3 separate regions of the Homo sapiens genome follow, and all the other regions are linked to region 3. The links are contacts of gene promoters, found by promoter capture Hi-C in human tissues and cell types (Jung and others, 2019). All regions are on one chromosome and are shown on one strand. Each heading gives the region's core, a stretch centred on a gene start or on the middle of the fragment in contact. The rest is flanking DNA. Distances are from core to core; before and after follow the strand shown.

What was found. Contacts are between HindIII fragments. The study calls those that stand out against the background at their distance.
Region 1: a contact is called between a fragment that was not itself captured here and the fragment with the promoter of CCDC177 in region 3, in 1 of the 25 tissues and cell types used here (spleen).
Region 2: a contact is called between a fragment that was not itself captured here and the fragment with the promoter of CCDC177 in region 3, in 1 of the 25 tissues and cell types used here (dorsolateral prefrontal cortex).

Annotation. Positions count from the first base shown.
Region 1 is chr14:69,777,603-69,781,643 of GRCh38, reverse strand. It overlaps SLC10A1 (solute carrier family 10 member 1), which reads left to right. Exons shown (of 5, transcript NM_003049.4): 3 at 2,284-2,462; 4 at 3,115-3,311. Among named protein-coding and RNA genes, the nearest start is that of SRSF5, 12 kb to the right of the region's middle. The HindIII fragment of the contact is 5,075 bases long and covers 1-4,041 here.
Region 2 is chr14:69,742,438-69,746,408 of GRCh38, reverse strand. No RefSeq gene overlaps it. Among named protein-coding and RNA genes, the nearest start is that of SRSF5, 23 kb to the left of the region's middle. The HindIII fragment of the contact is 9,492 bases long and covers 1-3,971 here.
Region 3 is chr14:69,573,525-69,577,960 of GRCh38, reverse strand. It overlaps CCDC177 (coiled-coil domain containing 177), which reads left to right and starts at 3,090. Exons shown (of 2, transcript NM_001271507.2): 1 at 3,090-3,419; 2 at 4,311-4,436. The coding sequence starts at 4,339. The HindIII fragment of the contact is 5,538 bases long and covers 1,476-4,436 here.

The DNA of each region.
Region 1 (4,041 bases), core at 1,006-3,505, 200 kb before region 3:
CACTCTACTCATGCATTTCCCACACCTGCTGCTACTGCTGAACTGACCCCTAACTCTCCTTTGTCTTACAACTTCTGCCAACTTGTGGCTATTGCTCCCAGACCTCTGTTCTGACACTTGTCCCTGCTATTGCTTCCCTCTCTGTAATCCTGCAAACTTCCTAAATGAGAGAATCTGATTATTTCTACCACTCACCAGCCTGTGCGGGCCACCTTTGTGGGTAGACTGTGGACATGTCATCTCATGTGTAAGCCAATGGATTGGCTGCCCATGAATGAGCACTCATCCCAGTTGTGAGCAGGGCAATGAAGTCAGGTGGTACAAAATGTGGTAGCCTATGGAGAAGCAACTACCCGGGGCCACTTGTCTCAGCAGGAGACAGGGGTTGTAGACAGGATAAATTTCCAGAGATGGCAGCAGTGAGAGTGACAGGAACCTCTAGAATGTTAATTCCTCCCCTTTGAGTAATAACAGGAGTTACAGTTTAGTGAGCGGTTCTTATATGCCAGGTCCTATGCCGTCAACCTCACTCAGGTTGAGTGACTCCCCAGAGCTTACACACCTGGAGACTAGCAGAGGCAGCTTTCCCACCAGGATCATATCAAATTATGTGCTCATAACCACAACTGTGCAGTCCCCAAGAGTCAGAGAACATGAGTGAGAGAATAAGAGTGAATGCCTATACAGAAGAAGAGGGCTTCTGGATTCGTGGACAATTCCTGTAACTCAATGTCTCCTACATTATCCACTCCACTCTTGATAGAGATTAAAAATTATTTGACTGTTGGGTAAAGGACAAATTCGAAAGACAGAAATCTAAAAGGGGAAATCAACTAAAAATGCAAAGGTAAACTGAGAAGTTCATTAGCTAATAAGTCTTTTAATAAAACTTGAAGCACATGGTTATTCAAGAGATGTGTGAAAGTCCTTCCTATGCTGGGATAGGACCACTAATTGGTATAGGTGATGTTTTATATGATCATATCAGTTGCAACAAGTATTAAAAACAGAAACACAAAGCTGTGCAGCTGAAATTTGAGCAATATAAATGTTAAAATGTCGTTAGGACATTATGAATGTACTTAATGCCACTGAACTGTACACTCAAAAGTGATTAAAATGGCAAACTTTGCTATACATATTTTACTTTTTTAAAATGTTACTAGGAAATATAAAATGCAACACATGTGAATGAACCAAAAAATGAACCAACACATGTAACTATTACAAAATAACATGGTAAGTTTGAGAAAAGTTAAGTATTTCTTTACTCAGGAGATAAAAGGGACAGTCTTAAATTTACACATACCTGTTTATCATTTTGGAGGACGCAATTCTCTAAAATGCACACTGGAAAGTACAAAGTGCATGGAGTGCACATGCACTTTGAAAGGTTGCATCCTATGTTGCACAATGAAAAACCCTATAATTTCATTCAGAGTAGACCTGCATAGTTTCCAATGATGTTGTTATCACCCAAGATATTTCTGAAAGTTCTTTTGGGAACTTCCTTCATATTCAATTTGCAGGTCACTCAAGAAAGTAGGTTTGTCCCCTTATTATTAGACATCATTTTGGGTTTAAAACCGTATTTCCGGGCTTGATCATCCACCTTGTTTACCAGCTTTGTTTCAAATGACTCTTGGCAATTTCCAGAATTGATCCTAAAATGGATAAAATCCCTATCTGTAATCAAGGTATTTGAGACAAATATGTATGACAAGTTCTCATGAGTTTCAAAGTATGTGGAACAATGACAGTATTGTAGGAATGTGTATATAAGTTCCAAAAATACTTGACTTTTAAATAATATCCATTTTGCAGGAGTCCTGAATAGCCTCACGTAACACTTCACTGAAAGTCTGCTATCCAGAGATGTGTCAAAAGCAGTAACTGTGCTTGGCTGAGTTTGTAATAATCAAAGTGTTAATCAGCTGTCCCCAAGCTTCCTAGCTACTGATACGAAATCTAAAAAGATGGGCTGGGTGCAGTGGCTCACACCTGTAATCCCAGCACTTTGGAAGGCCAAGGCAGGAGGACCGCTAAGAGTCCAGGAGTAAGACCAGCCTGGGCAACATAGTAAGACCCTGTCTCTAATGTTAATAATTTTAAAAAAATTTAAAGAAAGGAATCCAAAAAGAAGATAAAGGTCTTTCATATTCCTTTCCACTTCCAGTGTTTTATTGCAATGTTTCCCACCTCCAATTTCTACCTGTGCTTCCCCACCTCTGTTCCTCTCTATCCCCAACTCTTCTAATTGCCTTTTCTTGTCTTCATTCCCAGGGAGGGATGATCATCATTCTCTTGTGCAGTGTGGCCGTCACAGTTCTCTCTGCCATCAATGTGGGGAAGAGCATCATGTTTGCCATGACACCACTCTTGATTGCCACCTCCTCCCTGATGCCTTTTATTGGCTTTCTGCTGGGTTATGTTCTCTCTGCTCTCTTCTGCCTCAATGGACGGTAGGTATTTTTTTTTTTTTTAAGAAAGGGTCTCACTCTGTTGCCCAGGCTGGAGGGGAGTAGCACATTCTCAGCTCACTGCAGCCTCAACCTCCAGGGTTTAACTGATCCTCCTGCCTCAGCCCCCCAAGTAACTGGGACTATAGGCACAAGCCACCATGACCAGCTGATTTAACTTTTCTGGAGACAGGGTTTTACCATGTTGCCCAGGCTAGTTTTGAACTAATGAGCTCAAGTGATCCACCTGCCTCAGCCTTCCAAAGTGCTAGGATTACAGGTGTGAGCCACTGCATGCCTGGAGATAGGTATTATTTTAGGTCCCACTGTCCCATGGGCTTCATTCTTGTCCTAGTCTTTCAGGAAACGAATAAGAAGCTAGGAACCTGAAATCTGGGCAAGACACTTTCCTGGCAATATGTTCAGATGCACTAACTGGACAAGAGACTTTAGACTTGAAAAAAATTGAATGAAGGTATTGAACGGGTTAAAAATCCAGACACCAAAGGTATCCAAACACCAGCAGCAATAGCAAAGTACCCCTGTCCAGGGTCTAGATTCCATCTGCTGCGAAACTCTTTGGTAGCAGCACTGGGACAAAGTTGCTCCCTCCAGTTCCCTCTGAGTGTATGTGGGGTTTTCTTCACCGGCACAGGTGCAGACGCACTGTCAGCATGGAGACTGGATGCCAAAATGTCCAACTCTGTTCCACCATCCTCAATGTGGCCTTTCCACCTGAAGTCATTGGACCACTTTTCTTCTTTCCCCTCCTCTACATGATTTTCCAGCTTGGAGAAGGGCTTCTCCTCATTGCCATATTTTGGTGCTATGAGAAATTCAAGACTCCCAAGGGTGAGTACTGAAATTATCCCCACTTCAAGTTCTGCTCCAATATTAGACCTGAGCCTGCCAACAAGCAAGTTTCTAGCAGGGACTTTTTGGATAGGGCTTTAACTCTTATCAAGTCACTAAGAACCAGGTAGCCCCAAGAAGCACCCAAGAAGCATTAAAGATCCAAGACTACTTCCATCAACTGCACTCCATTTCTTCCTTCTAGCTGGGAGAATGAAATTGCAGATGCAGTTTACCTCATAAAACTGAAGCAATTTGGGCTGCTTTGTCTCAGTGGGGAGACATCATAGGACAAAACTGCCTTGGACAACTGAGGTTATTAGTTGTGTGAAAGGCCTCTATTCGCAAGAGTTGGGGAAGTTTCCATTTCTCAGGACTAGGTTCTCATTTCCTGGAACCAGATCAGAGCCACAGCACCACTGGCACCTCCGTATGAGGAAAAACATATGAAAGCAATGCACCCTAATATAACCCAGAATAAAGAAAAAAAAAAAAGATTCCTCAACTCTAGTTACGCAGTAAAGGAAACTTAAGCATACGGTTGTTAAACAGTAACTACCTCCACAATAAACTTAATATGATTTATACTTTACTCTGATCACTATGGGGTTAACATAGCATCTCTTCTCTAAAATGCTCAGAGTATTACCTTTCAAAATAAAATTGAACCTCAAGACAGACCAGAGAACAGAGTGCCTTCCTCAAAGTGCACTTTAACACCAATTTTAAA
Region 2 (3,971 bases), core at 1,040-3,539, 170 kb before region 3:
CTCCTTTTAAGAAATAAAAAGAAGCGTGAAACAATCTAAAAATGAGGAGAAAACAAGGAGAATGACCCCCTTTTCAGCACTCCATAGATTTTATGGCACCTCTACTTGCCAAAGTTTATGTAAAATGAAAATAATAAGATCTTTGTGCACATTTATATTAAGGAAAAAGAGCCCTAAGGTTGACCTGCAAACTACAGAGTTCCTAAGTCCTCTTTTTCTCTGTCCTTTTCTGCCTGCTCTAAATCTGCTGTTATTTTTCTATTAAGACAAAACCATTGTTTAGATCCAACAAGTTCTTTTTGCAAGCCAGTAAATTTGTATTTATCTCATGGCTAAAAGCTCTGAAATAAAAGCTGCAGGGTGTGTGTGTGTGTGTGTGTGTGTGTGTGTGTGTGTGTGTGTGTGTGTGTGTGTATTTAAAAGGCCTTTATAATTTCTATAATCCAAATTTTTCTCTCTGCACCTTATAATGTAAATTTTACTATTTGACTTCCCTTAATATGCAAATTTAAGGCTATTTAGCTGACAACTGCCCAGGGTTGTAAAACAGGTTACCAAGAATCTGAAAGTCGAAGATAGGGAAAAAAAAAAGAAACCCCTCCCCGCCCCGCACCCCCCCACCCCCAGCCACTGCTCTGTCGCCCAGGCTGGAGTGCAGTGGCACAATCACGACTCACTGCAACCTCTGCCTCCCAGGTTTAAGAAATTCTCTGCCTCAGCCTCCCGAATAGCTGGGATTACAGGCACGTGCCACCACACCCGCTAATTTTTTTTGTGTGTGTGTTTTTAGTAGAGATGTGGTGTCACCATGTTGGCCAGGCTGGTCTTGAACTCCTGACCTCGTGATCCACCTGCCTCAGCCTCCCAAAGTGCTGGGATTACAGGTGTGAGCCACCACGCCCAGCCAAAAGCATTTTTATGAATCTGTAAAATGTGCTTCCATTGGCATGTCGAATATGTCTGTGTATTTATGTGTTATATACACAATGTTTTACTACTAAAATAATACATAAAAGAGCTCTAATTAATTGGCTTAAAAAAATTAAAGTGCTACTAAAAAAGAAAAGACTAGTCAAATGCTTTTTTAAATTTATGTAACTTAAGTAAAATCTTTAATGAATAAGCTAGCTTTAAAATTATTGGTAAAGTAATATTAGAAATGTCTTAATTGCCAGCATACAGCCTGGGTGTGGTGGCTCACACCTGTAATCTCTGCACTTTGGGAGGCCAAGGCATGCGGATCACCTGAGGTCAGAAGTTCGAGACCAGCCTGGCCAGCATGGTGAAACTCTATCTCTACTAAAAATACAAAAATTAGCTGGGCATGGTGGCAGGTGCCTGTAATTCCAGCTACTCAGGAGGCTGAGATAGGAGAATCACTTGAACCCAGGAGGCAGAGGTTGCAGTGAGCTGAGATTGCACCATTGCACTGCAGCCTGGGCAACAAGAGCAAAAATCCGTCTCAAAAAGAATTGCCAGCGTACATCTTTGTTTGCATTTATTAATCAAGCAATTTCATACTTATCCCTGCCAAACAATAGAAGGTGTCAAAACTTGGCACAGGGGTTATAGCAAAACTATAAACTGAGCCAAAAACAGAATGGTCTTTGCTTGTGTGATTTTTAATAAATAAGACATTTATATTGCTTTAATGAAAATATCTGCATCTTAAATTTAGTAAGATTTCCATAACTTCTGATCTTGTAGCTCTAGGCAACCTAGTCCACAGGCAATGAGGAGGTTTGTTTTGGGAAAGGACTGTTACCATCTTTGTTTCAAAGCTAAACTATAAACTAAGTTCCTCTTAAAGTTAGTTCAGCCTATATCCAGGAATGAACAAGGACAGCTTGGAGGTTAAGAGCAAGATGGAGTCAGTTAGGTCAAATCTTTTTTCACTGTCTCAGTTATAACTTTGCAATGGTGGTTTCATAACTTTAAATCATATCACAGTTTTCATAAATAATCTAAGTAAACAATTAAAATAATTAGGTAAATGTAATGGGATGAATACTTATAGATAAACTGGTCAGAATTTAGGATACAAAGTTAAGTAACAGAGATTTCATTATTTGGGTATTTTCCAATAAATATATATTGTAGGAAAACATTCTTGCTAAAAAAAAAAAAGTGTATCCTTTTTTTAAAAAGGTGTACAAGTTTTTTCTAATTCAAAGCTAACTTAAAGGTTATGTATGAAACAAGGTAAAAGGAACCAGAAAATAAAGAGATGTAAAGAAAGTTATAAAAATAAAGAGGTATTGGCCAGGCCCGGTGGCTCACACCTGTAATCCCAGCACTTTGGGAGGCTGAGGCAGGCAGATCATGAGGTCAGGAGATCGAGACCATCCTGGCTAACACAGTGAAACCCCGTCTCTACTAAAAATACAAAAAATTAGCCAGCCTGGTGGCAGGCACCTGTAGTCCCAGCTACTCGGGGGCTGAGGCAGGAGAATGGCATGAACCCAGGAGGCAGAGCTTGCAGTGAGCCAAGATTACGCCACTGCACTCCAGCCTGGGCGACAGAGCAAGACTCCTTCTCAAAAAATAAATAAATAAAAAATAATAAAAATAAAGAGGTATTTTTTGTGGTAAGAAAGCTTAAAGCGAAATAATTTTATATGAGAAAGAATCTCGTATGGTAAATTTAATCCTAAAATAAAATGGTTGTTTAAGAAGGAGGGATGTTCAGCACAAACCAGAAAGTCCAAGCGTGTCACAAATGGTCAGTGTAAGTCACAATAAGAGGATTTATATTGAAAAGCAAAAACTTTAATATGATCAAGTTGTCATCTTATTATTAAGTTTTGGTTCACTTAGGAAAAAAACTGAGATAAAAAAATTTTTCTTGGCTGGTGCATGGTTCACATCTCTAATCCCAGCACTTTGGGAGGCCAAGGTGGATGGATCATTTGAGGTCAGGAGTTTGTGACCAGCCTGGCCAACCTGGGAAAACCCCATCTCTACTAAAAATACAAAAATTAGTGGGGCGTGGTGGTGTGCGCCTGTAATCACAGCTACTCGGGAGGCTGAGGCAGGAGAATTGCTTGAGCCCAGGAGGCAGAGGTTGCAGTGAGCCAAGATCATGCCACTGCACTCTGGCCTGGGCAATAGAGTGAGATTCCATCTCAAAAACAAACAAACAAACAAACAAATCTTCTCAATTAAGGTTATTACATCCATGTATCTTCCTGTATGTGCTTTTAAAGTCCTTGTGACATTGAGTTACAGGGCTTTGATTCCTGAGTCTAAAAAAGACACCAAGTCCTGCTAAATCTTAAACACTGACAGCAATTAAAGCCTCATCTTTAGGCCCCATAGAAGATGCCAATCAAAGTAAACTGCATTCCTGAGACATAGGGCAAGAAATTGAAGTTATTCAACTCCTCAAGGCCCAGGGACTATTGTGGAAGAGGTAGGCACCTAAGATTATAAGCGCCAATTTTGAATGATAAAATAAGTTCAGTTTCTCTATAAATTAATCATTAATGTTAAAGGCACACTGATGCAAGACCAGCATATGGGCCTATGTCAGATTAACAAGGTTTTCTTGAAGCATTATCCAACTCCTTAATAAAGGTTATAAAGGCTATAAAAGGTTTATGGAAGTTATATCTTATGGTCAAGATTAAAATTTTATAGATTGTTTATAAAAGTTTGGTTTCATGCTGGTTTTTTTTTTGTTTGTTTGTTTGTTTTTTTTGACAGAGTCTCGATCTGTTGCCAGGCTAGAGTGCAGTGGCGTGATCTCGGCTCACTGCAACCTCCACCTCCTGGGTTCAAGTGATTCTCCTGCCTCAGCCTCCCGAGTAGCTGGGCCTACAGGTGCGCAGCACCACACTCAGGTAATTTTTGTATTTTTTTTTAGTAGTAGAGACCGGGTTTCACCATGTTGGCCAGGATGGTCTCTATCTCTTGACCTTGTGATCCTCCCGCCTCGGCCTCCCAAAGTGCTGGGATTACAGGTGTGAGCC
Region 3 (4,436 bases), core at 1,841-4,340:
TGCTGGGATTACAGGTGTGAGCCACCGTGCCCAGCCAATTTCTACATATCTTGTAAAGAGGATTATTCCTTCCTTCCTTTTTTTTTTTTTTTTTTTTTTTTTTTGATGGAGTCTTACTCTGTCACTCAGGCTGGAGTTCAGCGGCGTGATCTCGGTTCACTGCAACTTCCACCTCCCAGGTTGAAGCAACTTTCCTGCCTCAGCCTCCCGAGTAGCTGGGATTACAGGTGTCTGCCACAATGCCCAGCAAATTTTTGTATTTTAAATAGAGACGGGATTTCACCATGTTGGCCAGGCTGGTCTCGAACTCCAGGGCTCAAGTAATCCATCCAACTCGGCCTCCCAAAGTGCTGAGATTACAGACGTGAGCCACTGCACCCAGCCATCCTTCCTTTCTTGACAGAGTCTCACTTTGTTCCCTAGAGTGAGAGGCTGGAGTGCAGTGGCACAATCACAGTTTACTGCAGTGTCCAACACCCAGGCTCAAGCAATCCTCCTACCTCAGCCTCCAGAGTATCTGGGACTACAGGTGTGCACCACCACGCCTGGCTAATTTTATTAATTTTTGTAAAGACAAGGTCTCACTATGTTGCCCAGGCTGGTCTCAAACTCTTGGGCTCAGCCAATCCTCCCGCCTTGGCCTCCCAAAGTGCCAGATTGCAGGTAGGAGCCACCATGCCCAGCTGGACTGTTTTTCAAGGATGATAGAGATAGAATCTCCCTCCAGGGAAGCAGGGAGATTTGTTTGCAGTCCAGGATAATAAAGATAATGCTGTCACTGGGGCAATGGTTGAGCAGGTTTGCTAGTAGCCCTGTTGAGAAGTTTAGGGTTTACTAATCTCTACCTAATTCACTACCTGTCTATGACCCATGGGACACATGGAGCAAGGGGAGCCAACAAAAGCATGATCTCATGCTGCCTGCTGTGCCATGAGTAACAAAGTCAGTGGTTTCTGACCCTGGAGTCTCCTGTCTTCTGCCAGCATATACAGAACAGTGGCAGGCTCACCTGTTAGTATGTAAGTAGGGTAAAATTCCAAAGGCTTCGTGTTCTTAAAACTACTACCTGAATGTCAAAAGCATCAGTAATTCTCACCTCCCATTGCACCTCAGCTTCCTGCACTTGGCATCTGCCCTAGTGCAATACTAAGCTGTTTTTGCCAATGTCACCCAAGACTCATAACTGCCAGTTTCAGTGGGTATTTGACTCCAGGTGAAACCTCCTGGACCTCTGCAGCCCTTAACACAAGGGGCACACTCTCCTTCTGCAGTGCCCCACTGGTAGCTCACACAAGACCACACTTTGCTGTCTGTCCTTGTTGCACTCCTTGTTGGTCCCCTTCGTGCACTCCTTTTCCCTTAGCAGCCCTATCCATGCCCTGCCAGCCTCTCTCATTGCTCCACCTGCCCTCCCTGAGTGATCTCACTCACACTGTTGGTTTTAGGAACCAGGTATAGGGTCACGATGTCCTAATTCTAGCTCCAGTCCAGATCTCTGACACAACTTATCAGCCACCTGCTGAGCAGCTCCACCTCAATCAAGAGGTCCGAAAAGGAAACCATCCTTCCCTGGCCCTCCCCATCACTATGTGCTGTATTCCTCCTGCCACTGTTCCTCTCTGGCCCCAATCCTTCCTGCCTGGGGTGACCACAGTGTCCAGCTAACTGGGCTTCCTGCCTCCTCTTGGCCCTGGCCTTTGTAAAGCCTCCACTTCACTGTTGCCAGAGTTATGTTCCTAAAATAAAAACCAAATCATGTCATTTCCCCACTTAAAACCCTTCACTTTCTCCTCACAGTCTACCTGACAATGTCAAGGTTATTTTTTAAAATTTAATTTTTTTTTCTTGAGATGGAGTCTCGCTCTGTCATCAGGCTGGGGTGCAGTGGTGAGATCTCGGCTCACTGCAACCTCTGCCTCCCAGGTTCAAGCGATTCTCCTGCCTCAGCCTCCTGAGTAGCTGGGATTACAGCTGCATGCCACCACACCCGGCTAATTTTTGTATTTTCAGTAGAGACGGAGTTTCACCATGTTGGCCAGGCTGGTCTCGAATTCCTGATCTCAAGTGATCCATCCGCCTCGCCCTCCCAAAGTGCTCGGATTACAGGTGTGTGCCACCACACCCAGCCAAGGTTATTTAATGCATAGTTCAATATTCCCTCTAATGTTATGTCCCATCCTCTCCTCGACTTCCCTCCATCAAGCACTCCTCCGGTCTGTCTCCTACGGCCACTATCACTCAAAATGGAAAAGAGGTGGGCAGGAGATGTCTCAAAATAACACTCATTGTATGGCACTAACTGGTTATAATTGTTATTATCTATAACCAGGAAGTCATAAAATGTTGCATTAAACACCAGTTACATATGTTCCACCTGCGTCAAACCCATAAGTGTTCTTAGTTTTTGTTTGTTTTTATTTTGTTTTATTTTGTTTGAGACAGGGTCTCACTCTGTCACCCAGGCTGCAGTGCGGTGGTGCAGTCATGGTTCACCGCAGCCTCAACCTCCTGGGCTCAGGTGATCCTCCCACTTCAGCCTCTGGAGTAGCTGGGACTACAGGCACAGGACACCACCCCAGCTAATTCTTGAAAATTTTTTTAGAGATGGGGACTCGCTATGTTGTCCAGGCTGGTCTCAAATTCCTGGACTCAAGTAATCCACTGGCCTCGACCTCCCGAAGTGCTGGGATTACAGGTGTAAGCCACCTTGCCCAGCCTGTTTTTAGTTTTTCATTGAAAAAAAAAAAATCACAATTTGCATCAGGCGCCATATTTCCACCCAATTATTCGCTATCAAGTTTGTTTGCTCCTCAGGGTTTCCTTTAGAAACAAGCTGAGCAATTCCTTCATTCTACCCAGTTAGGCTGCTGAAAGACTAGGGTTTCTTGGTGATTTATATATCGATATCTATCCATATCTATACCTACATCTACCTGTATGTGTGTAGTGTATATATATACATATTATATGTGTGTATATATGTACATATATACATTTAAACAAAAATTTCTCCTTCGTCCTCGAAGCAAACAAACCAGCACCCTCGAGTGTCCGCCAGGAGGCGCAGGGGGCAGCGTGGGACCTGCGGTACCTCCACGGTTGTAGAGGTGTAGAGGGATGCCGCAGCGACGGAACCGGGCTTCTTTTTTAAAGAATCAATGTGAGGGAAGGGTGCAGAGCCGCGTTATTTTAGGGAGACATTGTCGCACTCCCCCTCCCACGTGTAGGTAGCATCTGGGGTGCGTGCGCCCTGTTCGCAGACCCCATGGAGAGACGCTGGCGGCGGCAGATGGGGCTCCTTTCACGGTTGCAGCCGGCAGTAACCCGACCCCGCCGGCGCAGAGACTGAAGAAGCGCAGGGGACAGCGGCGAGCTGCGAACAAAAGCCCTTGGCGCGGGGCCGAAGCCCAGGACGCGGGGTGAGTAAACCGGCTCGGGTACCGGGAGCTGCGGGAACCTGGGCGGCCAGGTTCTTTGCACTCCAGGAGCCCACCCACTGGGATGCTGTGGGGGAACTCGGAGGGCACCCGAGGGCGGGTATCTGAACCCCGACTGGGGTGGATGGTATCTTTAGCACATTCAGACTTGGAGGAGATCCGGTGCGTCTGAGAGTATCCAGGCACCTTCTCCATCCCCAGCAAACACCCGGTGGGGGTGGAGGTGGGGGCGGAGGCGGCGTGCAGAGCCCTCAGTAAGCCCTGCCAGAGCTGCTGGAGCAAGAATCCATCACCCCTCCCGGAGAGGCCTTTGGGGACTTCTCCCAGCCCTTTAATCACCCGGGGGCCTTGCGACCGAGTCTCCTTTGGCAGGGGAAATCAACCATAAACTTCTTCCCTTAGGCAAATGGGGTCCCTTGGGATGAACAGGCCTCTTGCTTTTTTGTTCCTGCAAAGCTGCATCCCCAGTAGCCCGCCTAAGCTACAAACAAATACGCTAATCCTCCCGGGAATCCTCCAGCGCCTCCCTCTCTAGCTCCTGCCTGCACCTGGATCTTTTCATCTTAACTTGCAGCAGAAAGGGGATGCATCTAGCGGGCTAGGCGCCCAGAGGAGCCTCGCCACAGGCCTCCACCCCGCATTCCGGGGCTGAGGGAGACCCAGGCTGCTCTCTGAACACGAGTGTCCGCCCCACCCCCATCCCCGTTCTGGCGCTCAGCCTGGGCTTTCCGACATCGGTTTTATGATTTACGTTCCACCAAAGCCTCTGAGCCTAATCCGAAAGCGGATTAAGTTGGGATGGGGTGACTATGGATGAGGAGGGGGGAAGAGCTCTCAGACGTATTCCTCGATGTCCCTCCTTGTGATCTGCAGAGATTCCAACAAAGGACGGGGCTCAGCCATGGTGGACCCAGTGCCTGAAGAAGAGAAGGCAGGAGCGGAACCCGGCGACTCTGGAGGGGACGAGGCCGTGGCGTCCGTGCCCCCTGATTCCCAGGG